Linked DNA regions of Homo sapiens: region 1 is linked to region 2. Evidence: promoter capture Hi-C in 16 types of primary human blood cells and fetal thymus (Javierre and others, 2016). All regions are on one chromosome and are shown on one strand. Each heading gives the region's core, a stretch centred on a gene start or on the middle of the fragment in contact. The rest is flanking DNA. Distances are from core to core; before and after follow the strand shown. Region 1 overlaps LIN52 (lin-52 DREAM MuvB core complex component). Region 2 holds the start of VSX2 (visual system homeobox 2).

Region 1 (2,797 bases), core at 1-2,500, 140 kb before region 2:
ATTCTCCTGCCTCAGCCTCCCAAGTAGCTGGGACTACAGGCGCCCGCCACTACGCCCGGCTGATTTTTTTTGTATTTTTAGTAGAGACGGGGTTTCACCGTTTTAGCCGGGATGGTCTCGATCTCCTGACCTCGTGATCCGCCCGCCTCGGCCTCCCAAAGTGCTGGGATTACAGGCGTGAGCCACCGCGCCCGGCCGATTTTTCTTTATACAGTAAAAGTATATTGAAATCCCTTCAGGTTATTATCTCATTTTTAAATAGACAGAGTCTTACTATGTTGCCCAGGCTGATCTTCAACTCCTGGGCTCAAGTGATCCTCCCACCTTAGCCTCTGAAGTAGCTGGGACTACAAGCATGTACCACCGTGCCTGGGTAATTAAAAAATTTTTTTTGTAGAGACAGAGTCTCACTATATTGCCCAGGTTGGTCTTGAACTCTTGGGTTTAAGTGATCTTCCTGCCTCAGCCTTCCAAAGTGCTGGGATTATGAACCACCGCACCCAACCAGCATTTTAGTTTACAAATAAATTTAAGGCTGGCCACAGTGGCTCATGCCTATAATCCCAGCTAGTTGGGAGGCTGAGGATGGAGAATCACTTGAACCTGGGAGGCAGAGGTTGCAGTGAGCCAAGATCATGCCACTGCACTCCAGCCTGGGCGACAGAGTAAGACTCTGTCTCAAAAACAAGAAAATTAATTTAAAATTTCTAATTTTCAACTGATAGTCGTCACTTCCTCAGACCTCTTTATCCTTCCTTTATTTCTATTACTGTCATCAGCAGTTGGCTTTCTTTTACCAAGAAAACATTTTTGAATTGGTTATGGAATCAAGAAATAGAGAACAACAAACTGCTTCAAGATATGGTTGTTAGCTGCTCTGCTAAGTTCACTCATTAGTACCTAACTCTTCTCTATATACTGGTAATTTATTTCTTATGATTAAAGTTTATACCTTGGCAAAATTACTAGTTACCATGTATGTCATGGACCTCCTTGATTTATAATGAAAAGGCAAATCTGTGATTAGTAAATTCATGAATGTGAGACTTTCATAGTCGATTTTGTTCCTTGATTTTGTTTCTAGCTTTGGATAATAAATGCTGTAATGATCATTGTGATCAAGGCTTTATCTCTTTGTGTCAATGTTTTTCAATGAAGTAAATGTTATGTTTGTTATATCAAGAAGATGCTATATTACCAAATAGATTTGTCAGTAGTATTATCTATAGTTATAGCTGAAATTATGGTTCCTCTAATTAGTTTCTCTTTTTCTGCTTTCCTACTGAGAAAGGTAATGAAGTATTTTTTCCTGCTTTTTATTATTTATACCAAAGTAGAGTGAACGGAATAATGACCCATGGCCCAGCTTCAGTAATCAACATATAGCCAATCTTGTTTTACTTATAACAATTTCCTGTAGCTACTTTAAAGCAAATTCCAGGCATCATATTACCCCATTGCCGAGTAACTTTGTATGTGTTTCCAGAAGACAAGGACTCTTACTTTCTTTTGCTGTTTTGTTTTGTTTTGTTTTGAGACAGAGTCTTACTCTGTGGCCCAGGCTGGAGTTCAGTGGTGCAATCTCGGCTCACGGCAACCTCCATCTCTTGGGTTCAAGTGATTTTCCTCCCTCAGCCTCCTAAGTAGCGGGGACTACAGGCATGCACCATGATGTCTGACCAATTTTTGTATTTTTAGTAGAGATGGGGTTTCACCCTGGTGGCCAGGCTGGTCTCAAACTCCTTACCTCAAATAATATGCTCACCTTGGCCTCCCAAAGTGCTGAGATTACAGGCATGAGCCACCACACCTGACATATTGTTTTTTTTCCTTTCTCTTCAGGAACAGTGGCACAAAATGTAAGATTTTTTTTTTTTTTTTTTTTTTGAGATGGAGTTTTGCTCTTGTTGCCCAGGCTGGAGTGCAATGACATGATCTTGGCTTACTGCAACCTCCACCTCCCAGGTTCAAGCGATTCTCCTGCCTCAGCCTCCTGAGTAGCTGGGATTACAGGCATGTGCCACCAGGCCCAGCTAATTTTGTATTTTTAGTAGAGATGGGGTTTTTCCATGTTGGTCAGGCTGGTCTTGAACTCCTGACCTCAGGTGATCTGCCCAACTCCGCCTCCCAAAGTGCTGGGATTACAGGTGTGAGCCACCGGGCCTGGCCAGTTTTTTTTTTTTTTTTTTTTTTTTTTTTTTTTTTTTAAGAGACTGGGTTTTTCTATGTTGCCTAGGCTGGACTTGAGTTCCTGGGCTCAAGCAATCAGCCCACCTCAGCCTTCTGAGTAGCTGAGACTACAGGCACATACCACTGTGCCTGGCTTTTTCTTTCTTTTTTTTTTTTTTGAGACGGAGTCTCGCTCTGTCGCCAGGTTGGAGGTTGAAGTGCAGTGGCGCGATCTTGGCTCACTGCAACCTCCGCCTCCTGGGTTCAAGCGATTCTCCTGCCTCAGCCTCCCAAGTAGCTGAGATTACAGGCTCATGCCACCATGCCTGGCTAATTTTTGTATTTTTAGTAGAGACGGGGTTTCACCATGTTGGCCAGAATGGTCTCAATCTCCTGACCTCGTGATCCACCTGCCTCAGCATCCCAAAGTGCCAGGATTACAGGAGTGAGCCACTGCGCCCAGCTGGCTACTGTTATTTTTTAAAAATATAACAATAGTTTCATTATTATAACTACAATTTTTTTAACAAACTTGTTAAATATCATCAAATAGCCAATCAGGGTTTAGATTTCTGTAGTTGACTCATAAATGCCTTTATACAGTTCATTTTTTGAGTCTGGATCTAAA
Region 2 (2,871 bases), core at 69-2,568:
AACAGCCCTGCTAGCAAGGTCTAGGTTCCACATCCTGAGGTGCCTCCTCTTACCTCTCAGGCTGGCCCCATGGCAGCCACGAGGGTACCAGACACCTTGGCAATAGGCCAGGTATGGCTAGGGGGTTTCCTTCCATTTGGGGGTTTGCACCTGACTGGCTAAGAAATCCTGGATGGAATCTTCCCAGCCTGGTTTTCCAATCTCTGCTTAAAGCAATGGACCTAGTCCTTATCTCCCCATAGGGTGCCTTCAATTCAAGGAACCTACCATGAACTGACCATATGCTAGGCGCAGTGAAGAAGGGAGCCTCAAGGTCGATAAGATAGTTCCCAGCCCCAAGAAGGTCACAGAAGAGTTAGCTGAGGTGGTGGAGTGCAGGGGAAAGCAGCTTACCTTTTAATTTCCTCTCACCCGCTTCCTCCTTCCTCTCCCTCCACATCAACAATCCCTTCCTCTTCATTCTGTTTGCTCAATGAACTCTGAAGTATAGCAGGGCCCTTGCCTTGTCTGATTTACTGCGGAACCCCTGGCTACCAGGTCGGAGCTAGTAGCTCAATACATATTAGTCGAATGAATTGGGTGGAAGAATCAAGTCCTCCCATGAAAGTTGGGCATGCTTCATGCTTACTCTAGGAAGAGGTTTGGATGTCCATGGTTGTTCTCCAAAAGTAATCATCACTGTTCCTCTTTCCCACCAGGGACCCCTCTTTCTGACCCATTTATCATTCATTCATTGGGCCAATATGTGTTGAGTAGCTCTTCCGAACTAGGCATTATACCTTGTGCTGGGGAAGCAAACTTTCCCTACCCCTACATCACCCTCTGCACACCTTGGCCTGATCTTTTCCCAGCTTACCACCACACACACTGCCCCAGCACTTACCTCTCCCTTGTTCAACCGTTTACACAGAGGTGCCATATTCAGGCCGCCCTGATGCTGCCAACCTGCATAGGAGTTGAGGGAAGGAGGTCTCCCAGTCTCTCACCTCTGCCCTTAGCCCATCCTTCCACCTGACCTCAGGGACCTGTCCCTGCCAGAATCTGCCCAGAGCCCCAAGCCACTCTGCCTCCCGGAACAGCCCTGAACCTGAACCTGGTTGTCTCACTTCGGCCCCTGGGGTCCCTGCCCATGGGCATCCTGCAGAGCCCACCCGGTGCTCCACCCCCAGCACCCTGGCCATTCGACATTGCCTGCGGCGGGAGCTGCCAGCTTTTTGGAATTCCTAATCGCTCCTGGCCCCGGTGATTGGCTGCTCAGCTCTGACCCCACTTGGGCTGCCGCCTGGTTGGATAAAAGGGGAATCTCCTTGGGCTCCAGAGCATTAGACACCGGAGGGGGCACCTGGGACCAACTTCGCGAAGCGGGAAGCCCGGCGGGGGGGTGGGGGGAGCTAAAGACCTGCGGCCTCAGCCCCTCCAAAGAACAGGGAGATGACGGGGAAAGCAGGGGAAGCGCTGAGCAAGCCCAAATCCGAGACAGTGGCCAAGAGTACCTCGGGGGGCGCCCCGGCCAGGTGCACTGGGTTCGGCATCCAGGAGATCCTGGGCTTGAACAAGGAGCCCCCGAGCTCCCACCCGCGGGCAGCGCTCGACGGCCTGGCCCCCGGGCACTTGCTGGCGGCGCGCTCAGTGCTCAGCCCCGCGGGGGTGGGCGGCATGGGGCTTCTGGGGCCCGGGGGGCTCCCTGGCTTCTACACGCAGCCCACCTTCCTGGAAGTGCTGTCCGACCCGCAGAGCGTCCACTTGCAGCCATTGGGCAGAGCATCGGGGCCGCTGGACACCAGCCAGACGGCCAGCTCGGGTAGGTGAGGAGAGGTTGCGCTGCTGCCTGACTGGGGGGCGACAGCCGGGAGCCCCGCGCCGTCGGCTCTCGCTTGCTGGACCAGGCCTCCAGGCGGAAAAGTTCCTGCCAGGCCGGGGGTCGCCGCCTGGGCCTTGGGCCGACGCGCCTGGTGATGGGGCCCGGGAGGATGCTTCGGCGTCCGCAGGGTTTCGGCCCCAAGCGTTTCGGGCGGCCGCGCAGTTCTCCAGTCCCCGCGTCGGGCAGGGCTCGGCCACGGCACTCTGTTGGAGCCCCACTGAAAACTGGGTTTGGGGTGTCGGAGCCCGTGGTGCAGAGTCGCCGGCCGTGTCGGAGGGCCCCAGCACCGCTGCTCCACTGCGGCCCCGGCCTGGTGTAGGATCCGCACTCCTCGAGCCCGATGCTGTTCCGGCTCCGGCCCCATCCCTGGTGTCCAAAGTTGTCTGATTCCCAAATCCCGCGCTGGTCAACTGGGGTTTATTTTTCACCCCCACGAGCTCAGACAACCCGGCCATCGCGGCAGCTAAAGCGGCCGCCATCCTCTCCCACGTAAGCGCCACTATATACTGGAGCCCGGGGACGCGCGGGCTCGGGGACCCTGGGTGACCTCTCCGCCTTCTCCCCGCGCTGCTTTCCGGGAGGTGTGTCGCGGCCCGCTCGAACCTCCGATTCCTGTTTGAGCTTGGCAATTCCCCCGATTTTTCGTTGCGTTTTACTTTGTTTTACGTGGAAAGGCAACGAAAACCAGCGCGTCGCAGGCTCTCGGGCCTCGAGTAGGGACGCATTGTGCCGCCTTGCGAAAAGGACGGTGCTCGGCAGCCCCCAGTCTTCCCGGAGCCCAGCTCCCCACGCCTCCGCTCCGCTCCTCGCTCCTCGAGGCCAACTTTCCGGCCCGGGGCATTGGGGCTGGCCGCGCAGGGCAGGGCGCAGCAGGGTCGCGAGCGCTGCCGGGGATCTCTGCGGCCCCCTAAGGCTGCCTCGCTCTCCGTCGTCCCGGTCCCAAGCGCGCCGGGGCCTTTGCCTCTCTTACAACGAAATCTGTTCAAAACCTCCGGATTCGGGCCCCGGCG

What was found. Contacts are between HindIII fragments. The CHiCAGO score rates a contact against its expected background, and 5 or more counts as called.
Region 1: a contact is called between a fragment that was not itself captured here and the fragment with the promoter of VSX2 in region 2, in 2 of 17 cell types (M1 macrophages and M0 macrophages). The highest score is 6.8, in M1 macrophages.

What each region holds. Positions count from the first base shown.
Region 1 is chr14:74,101,563-74,104,359 of GRCh38, forward strand. All of the region lies in intron 5 of LIN52 (lin-52 DREAM MuvB core complex component), which reads left to right. All of the region lies in intron 1 of LOC105370563 (a long non-coding RNA gene), which reads right to left. Among named protein-coding and RNA genes, the nearest start is that of LIN52, 18 kb to the left of the region's middle. The HindIII fragment of the contact is 3,512 bases long and covers 1-2,797 here.
Region 2 is chr14:74,238,131-74,241,001 of GRCh38, forward strand. It overlaps VSX2 (visual system homeobox 2), which reads left to right and starts at 1,319. Exons shown (of 5, transcript NM_182894.3): 1 at 1,319-1,801. The coding sequence starts at 1,432. RefSeq lists an enhancer at 2,670-2,871. The HindIII fragment of the contact is 12,282 bases long and covers 1-2,871 here.